Linked DNA regions of Homo sapiens: region 1 is linked to region 2. The links are contacts of gene promoters, found by promoter capture Hi-C in blood cells and fetal thymus (Javierre and others, 2016). All regions are on one chromosome and are shown on one strand. Each heading gives the region's core, a stretch centred on a gene start or on the middle of the fragment in contact. The rest is flanking DNA. Distances are from core to core; before and after follow the strand shown. Region 1 overlaps LOC105379144 (a long non-coding RNA gene). Region 2 holds the start of PRR16 (proline rich 16).

Region 1 (6,412 bases), core at 2,273-4,772, 520 kb after region 2:
TTTACTGCTTCTTGACCTTTATTATTTCTTTATTTCTACTAATTCCTGAGTTTCATTTATTCTTACTTTCCTAGTTCCTTCAGGTTCCTTAGGTTGTTTATTTGAAATCTTTCTACTTTTTTGAAGTAGGTATTTATTGTAGTAAACTTCCTTCTTACCACTGCTTTTGCTGTATCCCATAAGTTTTGGTACATTGTATTTACATTTTCATTTGTTTCAAGAAATTTTTTCATCTTCCTAATTTCTTCATGGACACAGTGCTCATTCAGGAGCACATTGTTTAATTTCCATGTATTTGTACAGTTTTTAAACTTCCTCTTGTTTTTGATTTCTAGTTTTATTCCATTGTGGTATGAGAAGATGCTTGACATGATTTCAATTTTAAAAAATTTGTTGAAGCTTGTTTTGTGGTCTAACATATGGTCTATCCTGGAGAATGTCCCATGTGCTTATAAGTAAGCATATTCTGCAGCTGTTGAATGAAATGCTCTGTAAATGTCTGTTACATCCATTTAATCTAACCTGCAGTTTAAATCCAATGTTTCTCTGTTAATTTTCTCTCTAGATGTTCTGTCCAATGCTGAGAATGGGGTATTGAGGTTTCCAACTGTTACTGTAGATTTTTTCTGTTCAAAATTTCAGGTAGACTTTCATTTTGGCAAATATTATAGCCTGGATTGAAATTGCATTCTTTACTAAAGAATCTGTTCTTGTTTCTGTCAGCTCTTCAGCTATACTCCTAATCAAATATCACCTCAAATAAAGTTTTAGATGAAGTTGAATGTTTCCAGATTGAGAGTGTGAATTTGGGCCATAAATTCATGTGGGGACAGGATTTGAGTTACAAACTTTCTTCTTTCTACACCATCATGGTTGAAACAAGGGAGTGTCCTTCCTACCTCCATTGGTGGGTGAATGTCTTCTTCTACTGAGGATATAGCTTTTTGGGTCCTGGCTCTGGGGAATAATCTTCTTTCAGTTTCCCTAACTTATGCAGGCCGGGTTTACATTCTTTTCCCCAACCTCTGAAAATGGATCTTCAGAGTTATCATTAATTGATAATTGCCCCAGTATGGCCAGCTATTCTGTGCTTGCTGAACTTTCTGAACTTCTGCTTACATTCTGTTTTTAGTCTCTGAATATTTTCCTTATTTTCTTGTCAGCTCAATACACCATGGAATACTATGCAGCCATAAAAAAGAATGAAATCATGTCCTTTGCAGGGACATGGATGGAGCTGGAGGCCATTATCCTTCGCAAACTAACAAAGAAACAGAAAACCAAGTACCACATGTTCTCACTTATAAGTGAGAGCTAAATAATGAGAACACATGGACACATACAGGGGAACAACACACACTGGGGCCTTTCAGAGAGTGGAAGGTGGGAAGAGGGAGAGGATAATGAAAAATAACTAATGAGTACCAGGATTAATAGCTTGGTGATGAAATAATCTATACAACAAACTCCCATGACTCAAGTTTACCTATGTAACAAACCTGCACATGTACCCCTGAACTTCAAAGTAAAAAAAAAAATTTAATATATTTGCTAATGTTTTTTCAATGTTCTAATTATTTTGAAGTGAAAGGTTTGTTAAGGGTCTTTGGACCACTATATCATCAGAAATTGAAAACTCATATATTTATTCAAATTGTTTACCTGAAAAACCTTATCAACTAATAGTAATGTAATTCATATTGTTGGTACCAAAAAAACAAAGACAAACTAAGTGTTTGACAGTTTGAGAGTAAACTGGATAGATTAATATTATACTGATTTTGATCTAAATATCTAAGGTTCCAATTATGAAGGATCTTTAAAAAGCAATCATTTTCTGCATTCAATACAACCCAAAGATTATATTCAAAACAGCACAAGTACCAGTGGATTAGACAAAAGCAGACAATATCCATACTTGTGAGTACCTGCAATATTTCTACACTGACAGGTAGAGAGGTGAAGAGGGAAGGGTATTATACATGAACCCACTTCTCCCCAACTTCCAAGAAGGGATTTTAGTGGTGTACATGTGAATACGACAGAAAGTAAATGAACAGTGAGTTTGCCCAAAGACTCTTTTTTACATCTTGTATGAATCTAAAAAGTAGGTAAAAGACTGACTGAGGATTTTTAGGTTCAAGATTCAAAACAATTAAAGGCAACATTTAAATAAGGGTGGTAAGTTATACTGCTTACCAGATACTAAAGCTGGTTTTTGTACTTGGGCCCCTATACTTTAACTTTATTTTGGAGGCCTATAAATACTCCAAAATGGGCATCTCTCATCCTCTTTCATATAAAGGCTATGTATGAGAAGAAAATAAGTCATGTCAATAAAAAGAACAAAATAAACTATCTTCATAAAGTCATTCAGCACATAAATACATCTTTTAATTTTTACTTTTTCATTTACTTTTGCTTAAAAATATTACCTTGGGTGATAAGGACAATTAGGAGAAGGTAATATTTTTAAGCAATTGCCTTGGGTGATTAGGACAATTGCTTAAAAATATTACCTTGGGTGATTAGGACAATTAATATCCTAATTCTAAAAGTCCTAAATCTCTTAATGTGTTACATCAAAAACCAAACAAGACTCATCTTATTGTGCTCTTAGCCTCTAAAGAAACCAACCCCAACTCTTTCTAATCATCAGCTAACTCACTGTTCACAATCAACTTACATTTAATTCCCATGAAACACCACCAAGATCACTGTCAGGGACATGTACATCAGTCAGGCAGGCCTCATTGCTTTTTTGTACTATACTTCATTTCTACTAACAGGACAGAAGTTTGGGGAGTTGCCGCATTCCAACAGGAATCTGGCAAGATTCAATGAGGATTTTTTATAGTAGCTTATGGTCTAAGATATCACTAAACTTCATCATCATACTGAGAAGCCAACACTAGTTACAGACATGCTGCTGTACTGGAATCACCAATATAAAGATTCAAGATAAGCACAGGACAGTGATTAGTGGACTCAAATGCCACCTACAGGCTATAACTTTATTTAATTTTTTTATTAAGACAAGATTAAATGCAATATTTAAAGAGAGGTGGTAAGTTACACTGCTCACAAGAAACTAAAGTTGATTCTTGTGTTTGAGCCCTTCGGTAGTTTAATGTTATTTGAGTGACCCATAAGTACTCCACAGTGAGTACAATATAAAATATAACAAAGTTCTAGTATTCTAATGAGACTACAATCTGGTATATTTAAAAGATGACAAAAGAATTAATAACAAATATATTGACATTAATACTATTTCCTTTTTGTGTTTTTTAACCTGCTTAGATCATTAACCTTTGATAGCTAATAAAAAGGATCTCATTACAGGTATAGGTTATGTCTACACAGTAATCAGTGAGGCACTTAGATGATATTACAGATAATTTATCTGTATAATAATTACCAAAAATCATCAAATATTAAATAAGTACCTACCCTGAAATGGGCACTGTGATAATCAAAAAATCGATTCTGGAGATTTGCATTATGCAGTTTGCCTATCTACCTTAATTGAAATTAATTGCATTATAAAATTGACCTGCCTTAATTGAAATTAAATGATTAAAATTAAATAACCAAGCAAATATTTGTTAAGCTGCTGCTATGTTCCCAACACTGAGCTAGTTAGAGGTGATACAAGGAAATGAAAAGTTTTGTCATCAGATTGTTAACAATGTAATTAGGGAGAGGAGACCTATACAAATCAAAACACAAAGGAGAGTTCCAGGGAGCAAGAGTCATAAAAATTGAGAAACACAAGAGATTATAGAATAACTAGGTTCTTAATTAGACCTAAAACTGATAAACTTAAGTGGAGGGGAAAATAGCAAAAGAGATGTGGCAGCAAAAATCATGAGGTATACATGCTCAAGAAACATTCATGGCCAAAACCATATTTCTTCAGCATCTGTTTTATTAAAGATCTATAAACTTTTTTATTTTTCACAATAACTCTTTAAGGTGACTACTATTATTATTCCTGTCTTATAGATGAAGAGACTGTGACTCAGAGAAGCTGAATAACTTGACCAAAGCCTTTGAACTGATAAGTAGCAAAATCAGAATTCAAACCCAATACTTTATCATTCCAAATTGGGTGCTCTGAACCACTATGCCTGCAATAAATAAACCATCTGCCTTTAAAGAAAAGAGTGTATGGCATGAGATAAATTTGGGAGGTATAACAGCCAGGCAACAGATGGTACATTGAAATTGGGTTATTCGAGTTGAGTTTTGATACAGGGAACATTTACAAAGGTATGTGCAGAGTGTAGGAAAGCCACAAGAATATGGCAGTATTCCAGTGCTAGGAAAAACCACTTCCACCCCTCATCCTGAAGGATGGAGTGAGGTGTGGGAATTTCCAGACCCCAGAAGGAGAGAGCCTTGGGGAGTGGGGTGCCTGACAAGATGCATGACTTTTTGTAGAAAAGAGGAAGCTGGGTAAATAAATTCCCTGACCTGACCCTCTTCCTTTGTTTCTATTTCCCACTGGAGGTCTCATTGATGGAGTTTATGCAGATCAGTCACCCAGAGCCAAAGAGTAACTGAAAAAGAGTGGAGAATGGATCTAGAGAAGCAAATACAAGGTAGACATCACTAGGATGTTCTAGGAGGGTCTTGAGGCTAACTTATTTAGATTTTATTCTGTTGGGAATGGAGGACCAATAAATGTTTGGGTGGGCGAGAATTGTATATGGAAGAACTGCTTCAGGGAAACTAAATTTGTTATTAATGTAGATAGAATAAAAAGGCTGGCTGCAAAAACACTTTTGGAAAAAAATTAGAAAGCTCTGGTAGTGACTTTATGAGCCTAATAGTGAATAGTCTAGCAGAACAGAAAGAAAGAGGCTTAATGAACTGTCTATAATATTATAAAGAAATAAACTTGACTCCCAATCACACAGATAACATGATCCATTGATGAAATAATTTAGTTCTCCCTTCTCTCTCTTCTGCTTTCTATTTTGCACATTTGGGGATTTATTTTAATGGCTTCACAATCATGCCTTTCAGTCCATCATCAAATTCCTTATGCAACTATCTGGTAACATAAGCTGAGTAGTTAAGACAATAGCTCTCAGGATTGATGATCTCATTTTGGATATTAAGGGGGAAGAGGGAGAGAAACAGGAAGATAACATATACTGAAATCTTATGGCATGCTGTTTAATGCGCTCAGCGATTTTACATTTAAATTCCCCAGTACACCTGGGAGACAGGTATCACTTTTATTTAACAGACAAAAAAACCCTGTTCAAGTTCACTAAGTAAAAATAATCATTAGAAATAATAATAATGAGCTAAGTTAATGAAAGACATTATATGAATGTTAACGGAATCTGAGTATTTATCTTTGTTTTGTATTATTTTGAGACTTAGTAACCCTAATCAAAACATCCTCAGTATCACAATACATGGTTCTGTTTAAAATAAAATTAATTTTTCAAAATATATTAATTTTATTCTGAAAATAATCAATTAAGTAAGATGATTTTTAAAAAGAGGTCTAGGAGGCAAAATAACTTTCCTGAAAATGGAGAATGTCAAAGACAATATCAAACTGCATCTTACGTAAATGATTCTTCTTTCGGACTCACAATATATTATAATCTTTTGAGTTAACATTATATCAATATGTGAATTTTATGCATAATGAAATCTTTAAAAGACCCCAAACCAATGCTGTGTTGAATGCCTATAAAAGTGGCTTAGTCTCCAGATACACCCAAAAGAAAGAGGCTAATGGTAGAAGTTGAAGTAGGGAGAGAAAGTGAAAGGCACATTTCAGGACTATAGTTTTTATTAGTTTCCATCTTTGATTGATGCTACCAGTGAAGAGGTTGCTGGAATGGCAAATAAAAGAATAAGAAAATGAGTGGGCTCAAACCAAGAAGTCATGGCAAGAAGAAAGGCACTCAGTTCTAAGTTCAGGACATGCAGAAATAGTCAAAATAAAATGTTATTCTTAGTAATCCAACAGTAGCTATAAGGTGCCACCAAGACAGAAAAAATTCTAGCCTACACAATTAGAGAATAACATGGCTATGTGACAAACAGTCTGAAAGAGCTACTGTCAGGCAATAGCTCTCACTCAATACTATCTTAAAGAGCTACTGTCAGGCAATACTATCAGTCAATAGCTTTGCTTCTAAGAGAAGCACCAGAAGACAAAGGGAGATTTTCCAACACCGGAAAAAGTAAGACATTCTCCAGGTTTTTCAAATAACTTCAATCTCGGGCTTATGTTCTTGAAATTTCCCAGGTAACCTCTGTATGGTGAGTCTGTAGAGACAGACTTGTAGACACAGAACTACATGCCACAGGACTGAGCTAGCACTGGTACCAAAGCACTCAAAATGTCATCATGCTTCTTCACATCATGTATTAGGTT
Region 2 (6,189 bases), core at 488-2,987:
ACTGGCAAACTTAACCCTGGTGACGAATGGCCCATTTTAACAGACTTGCATTAGGTAACAAATGCAGAGTTCAGTTCATAGAGGTAACGGGGGAAGGGGAGGAAGACGAGGGGGCTCTTGAAATTTGGTTTGGAAATTGAATACAGGAGGTTAATCTCTAGAGGCCAGTCATCCAAACAACCCTCAGTCTCCTCCCCGTTGGCTTCAGAAACAGGATTACAATTTTGGACCTAGACTACGCCCCACCCCTTTTCCCGCTGCAGCCACCGCCACCTTCGAAGTTCTAGTCTTAGCTCTCACGCAGCGGAGCTGCGGACTCCCTCACCGAGAACCGCACCAGGACCCCATTCAGTAGTGAGCGGCGCGCTGGGACTCTGCTACCAGCTCCGCGACGCCGCCGGCAGCCAGCCTGGCTCGGGAGACCCCACCCCTCCCAGCCCGGCCCCCGCCCCCGCCCGGAGCCGCCGCCTGAGTTACGCAGCCTCAGCCCTGACACCTTCTCTGCTTCTTTCCATCTGGATCACCTGGGGCTAGGGGCGGGCGGGAGTAGGGCTGAACCGAAGTGGGATAGGAAAAGCGGGGAAGAACCGAAGCAGTCCCAGCTGCAGAGAGCCAGGACGCCAATGGCAAGACCCCGGCCACACATACACTCTCCTGCGCGTCCTGCTTCTCGGGTTCAATGCCAAGTGGCGACAGGGTGGAAGGAAGGAAGCAGAGGTAGGGTGGCGGGAAGGCCCAGAGTTACTGGTAACGACGTTCGGAGGAGAGCAGGGGATGCTTCAGAAACTGAGAAAGTGAGAAAGTCCCAGACCCCCTCCTTAGCCCCAAGGCTGCCAGCAGCCCGGGTCGCCTTCCCTACAGCGAGGCTCGAGAGACAGGGAGGGTAGTCTGAGCCAAGCTTCCTCCAGGCTGCCCTCCCTGATCTGGCCCAGGGCCCAGAACCCGGCCCCTCTTCAGCCCTGACTTGGGGAGGCTGACAGATAGGCAGCGGACTTGCCAAAGGACTCTGGGGAAGCAATAGGGCAGGAGAGGAGCATCTTGCACGCTCCAGCCGGGCTGCTCACGACTTCCTCTGCCGACACACCCCCAGCTAACCCTCTCCCCCGTCGTCACACACACAGATTCAGAGACACGCGTGCGTTCATCCCTCCCACCAGCCCAGGTCCATCGATTAAAACACTAGTTGATTTCTTCCTGATTAAAAAAAAAAATTAAAAAGTGCAACAACAACTCCTCTCAGGACTCCAGGAGCAAAGAAAGTCCGTCTGCAGGCGCCTTTTCTGTAGTTTCCCAGGAGTTTGGAAATCTGGCTGTCCCTGCTGAAAATCGGAAAGGGGACCCCGGAGGGGTCGAAGGGTGCCGAACTCCCTCCCCACCCCTGCGCCTCTCACCTCCTTAAGTTCCTTGGCCACGTCCTTCAGGTCGCCCAGGACTAATTCCAAATCCTCCACGATGATCTTGATCTGTTCCTTCACCTTGGTTTTGGAGGCTGCCGGCGGTCCCTCGGCTGGACAGGACGAGGAGGGGTTCCCCTTGGACTTGGCTGACATTCTTTGGGGGCAAGCGAGGCAGGTCAGGACAGGCGGGCGAGCGGAGGCTGCTGCGTGCCCCCGTCCCTGGCGCTGCTACGGCCGCTGCCGCCCCGGTCCCCCCACATCTTGGGCGCTCCCTGGGCAGCGGCGAGTGGCTGCGCTCCGCGCTCGGCCGGGCGGCCGCACAGTGGTGCTGCCATCAACTCCCGAGACGCGGCGCTCGGCTCGGGGCTGCAGACGGGCGAGCAGCGCGCCTGCGCCTCCTCCCGCCGCCGCCCGGCGCTCTCGCGCACACGCGCTCGCTCCCCGCCCGCGGAGAGGGGCGCCGTGCTGCCGCGCCAGGGTTGACGCTTGCAGTCCCCTCGACGTTGCCCTTCGAGATATCTCCCAGATGCCACCTTGGCATCAAGGTGGGGGAGACAAGTCCGTGTCCTGCCCGCCCCCTCCTCTTGGTTCTGAAATGTCCCCATCATCTCAGCCTGCTTGCTGTATGTCATCTCACAACTAGCCTGGATTCTTTCTGCTTCACTTGCTAGCAGGGACCTGGATCAATTCAGAAAGAACCACAGTGGGATCAGGAGTTGGAGACAGTCTGTAAAGTGGCCCTACAGATTTATCCAAACCCAAATGATGTCCAGAGGCCTTTAATCAATCTCTTGGTGACCTGCGAGTTAAGCAGACTTCTTAACTTCTGCAAGAAAAAAGGGGGGGGGGGGTGCACATAACAGCTAATGGTCATCTATTGAAACCATGAAATTCAACCAGTGTTCTTGAAAGAGGTACCCTAATCCTGCTAATTCCACAAAGCTAATACCGGATTTATTAATTTGAAGTCCCCACACCCCAAATCCTCTCTGATTGTCTCAGTCATCTTGGCTGTATGTCTTATTTGGCCCAACTCTTTTTTTTTTTTTTAACTGTCCTTCCTCTTTTTGTGACCTATGCTGATTTACATTTTGAGTGGAGTGGGGGAGACATCGTATTTGGACCTCGTGAAGGAGCTGAGTAAGAGATTGCCTCCAACTTCTCTTTCATCATTTTTTAAACCTCCATTTCAACTCTTTTGCTACTAAACAAATAGGAAACAACTTTCTGACTGTTCTGTCAAAAAGACCCAAGAAGGGAAGTTAATAGGAAGCCTTCGGTTCACTCTCAGTAGGTGTCTACAATTCTCATTAGCTAGAATTTTAACTTCCTTAGTTGTAAACCCATGGGCTATTAGCTACTGACCCAGCAGGCTGGCTCTACTTTATTTTCTTCACTGCACACTCCTCCAGATCATTCTTTTAATAGGCTTCCCCTTTTCGTCGTGCCTTAGCAAGGCTCTCTGTTTCTTGCTTCTCACACTCTGGGTAGCTCCACTGTGCTACACATAAAGAAAAGCTTGGCAGCTCTCCTCTTCCCAGTTCTGTAGGCTCTTAATCAATCACTCTCTTAATCCTGGACAATTCATCTTTACAAAACCTTTGGAAGTCATATGTGGAATATAGAGGAAGAAAGAGAACAGAAGAAAAAATTGAAATTTGAAAGTGGTGTCAAAAGAAAACCATTGAAAACTGCATTGAAAAATCAGGGGAAGAAATGAGAAAAGGTGAAAAGCAGATGCTGCTGGAAAGACTTAAGAAGAGATTATAAGAACAAGTCTGCAGCATGCAAACTGGAGAAAAGAAAAAGAGAAGAAATGATTAAAAGTGTGAAATAAGTAATATGCTTGAGTTCTCTGAGGTAGGGAGAATTAGATTTTTAAAACATCCTTTTTCTCCTCAAATTCTTTATTTTATAAAAAATATAACATTAAAATAATTATATCAGGTTTACAGACTCCCCAAAATTGTCAAAACTAGCAAAAGCTAATGGTAGGGGAAAAGAGAAAGTACTATTCTTCTAGATTGGAATTATTTTTGACTCTTAATAGTAGGCAAGTGTGTAAGAAAGCCGCCAAACTCAAAGTTAAGTGACTTTAGACAAGGATATGGGAGAGGAGGAAAGGAAATTGTGATTTCCCTCACAGTGACAAAATAATCCTCCCACAATATAAGAAGATGTCCATGCTACTCTGAATCTCATTCACTAAAGATTAAAAAAAAAAAAACAAAACAGGCTAGGCACAGTGGCTCATGCCTGTAATCCCAGCACTCTGGGAGGCCGAGATGGGTGGATCACAAGGTCAGGAGTTCAAGACCACCCTGGCCAAGATGGCAAAACCCCATCTCTATTAAAAATACAAAAATTAGCTGGGCATGGTGGCAGGAGCCTGTAATCCCAGCTACTCAGGAGGCTGAGGCAGAGAATTGCTTGAACCCGGGAGGTGGAGCTTGCAGTGAGCTGAGATCGTGCCAGTGCACTCCAGTCTGGGTGACAGAGCGAGATTCCGTCACAAAAACAAAACAAAAAAAACTGTTCTCTTCTGATACTCTGATATCCACTGCTGCTACTGAAACAAATAATTCTGACTTAAAATCAAATCATAATTATTGCTTAGAAACACACCACCCACACCCATATCACAGTTCACTCTGAAATAATCACTATCATCTATCTATCTATGTCTTTATACAATATAGAGTTAACTGAATAGGGAAAAGTTAAAATTGGCTTCCAGGCCCAAACTGAGAAAGCTGGTAGGATTGCAGCAGTGGTGTCTGTCCCTATCTTCTAGTCATTAAGGATCACTTAAAGCAAATCTCCATAAAATATGTCTAAAGAAGAAACTTTTATAAAGGGAATTATAAATATTGAGGAGAAGAAGACAGAATAAAAAGGGCCCATGAATATAAATCAAGTGTATTTACTTCCTATTTTTGTATTACCCTATGGAAAAATCTTTCATTCCTTTGGGTAATCCTAGACTCTCTCAGAGATCAGTATATAGGATGTTTTAGACTCCAGTTATAGAGACCAAACAGCAAAAGTGACACCTAATAAAATTTCTGGTAAATCTTTCTGTAAGTTCGTTAATGTACTAGTGCTAGCTGCAAATGTACACAACCAAACCACATTACTTATAAACTTAGACAGGATAATACATTTCTAAATAAAGGAGAGTCTTACTCATTTATAGAAGTGATTGCAAACCCAGGATTTTATTCTCCCTGTCTCTCTATTCATCATTTTCTGAGTTTTGTAACAGGAAGAATTGGATAATTACAGGAGATCATCTAGGTTTTGTTTCTTTAGTTACAAGCCTTTATCAGTATTCTCATGTGTATGCGTGTGTGTGTGTGTGTGTGTGTGTGTGTGTATGTGTAATCCACTGCAGTTGATCCCTAGTAATTAACCCACAGGAAAAAACTCTGTGACACTGACATAATTTTAAATTCACAAAAAGCATAAGAATATTCCCAAAATATTTTGTCTCACAGTTCAGCATAGCTGGGGAGGCCTTAGGAATCTTACAATCATGGGGGAAGGTGAAGGGGAAGCAAGGCACCTTCTTCACAAGGTAGCAGGAAGGAGAAGTGCGGAGTGAAGGGGGAAAAGCCCCTTATAAAACCATTAGATCTCATGAGGACTCACTCACTGTCATGAGAACAGCATGGGGGAAACTGCCCCCATGATTCAATTACCTCCACCTGGTCTCTTCTTTGACGCGTGGGAATTATGGGGATTACAAATCAAGACGAGATTTGGGTGGAGACACTAAGCCTAACCATATCAATGATATAGTTATGAAAAATTAGAAACGTTTTCCATACATATATTTACTATTAAACATATTTTATATGTCCAGGCAGTGGTTGAGAAAGCCTAGTACCCATCAGAACTTCTTTAAAAAAAAGATTGCTATACTCCCTGCCCCAAGGTTTGTAGTTCAGTATGTCTAGGATGAGGTCTAAAATGTGTATTTTAACAAATTTCTAGGATGCTGGTAGGGGACCACACTTTGAAAACCACCAATTTGAGAGATTAAAATAAAAACTTTAAGTTTCTTTTTACCTGGAATAAGCCTTAAAAATAATTTAGTTAAATTTCTGTTTGTTATAAGCTTTAAAGAGCATCTAGATAAATCTTAAATAAGTATAACTCTAAAGAGCATCTACTTAAATGTTAAGGCCTTAGTAGGCTAAATGGCATATCCAATATATCACATCTAGGGAACAATAAATTGAGAGCTAGAACTCCTTGTTCACTCATACATTTTATTAAATTGTCTCTATTGTTCTGGAGAATGTCTCCTTTTAATGTATCAACTGCTTCTGGCATGATGGCTATGTACTGTTGATGTATATAGGTTTTAAAAAATGAGATCTGGGAGTTTAAATGCAAGTACTCAACACAATATCCTGAGTAATTAGAACTGTGTCTATTGCAAAAAGGCTGATCAATAAATACTTAACAAAATGAATGAATGAGTAAACAGTTGTCTCTGTGTGTTTTGAAATTAATTCAACAAATATTTTTAAATGCTTGAGCAAGAATCAGTGCTAAGAGTAGTTGTGCCACTAGGTTTAATTAGACATAATCCCAGCAGGAACCACTAGATAATTCTCTACATGACTCTAATAAATACAAAGTGGGATTACTCCGAGTATCTCTTCCTGCCCTCATTCTTAACTATAGTGAGTTCATTTTATTTGACCTCTCCTATGGTCTGACTATCCCTCCAAAATTAATTTGAAATCCTATCTCCCAAGATAATGGTATTAGAAGATGGGGC

What was found. Contacts are between HindIII fragments. The CHiCAGO score rates a contact against its expected background, and 5 or more counts as called.
Region 1: a fragment that was not itself captured here is called in contact with the fragment with the promoter of PRR16 in region 2 in 4 of 17 cell types (M2 macrophages, neutrophils, M1 macrophages and 1 more); the score reaches 12.0 in M2 macrophages.

Annotation. Positions count from the first base shown.
Region 1 is chr5:119,939,923-119,946,334 of GRCh38, reverse strand. The region is part of intron 1 of LOC105379144 (a long non-coding RNA gene); the gene reads right to left. Among named protein-coding and RNA genes, the nearest start is that of FAM170A, 310 kb to the right of the region's middle. The HindIII fragment of the contact is 6,242 bases long and covers 402-6,412 here.
Region 2 is chr5:120,459,848-120,466,036 of GRCh38, reverse strand. PRR16 (proline rich 16) reads right to left here and starts at 1,737. Exons shown (of 2, transcript NM_001300783.2): 1 at 1,392-1,737. The coding sequence starts at 1,550. RefSeq lists an enhancer at 862-1,363 and a silencer at 1,769-1,818. The HindIII fragment of the contact is 2,017 bases long and covers 901-2,917 here.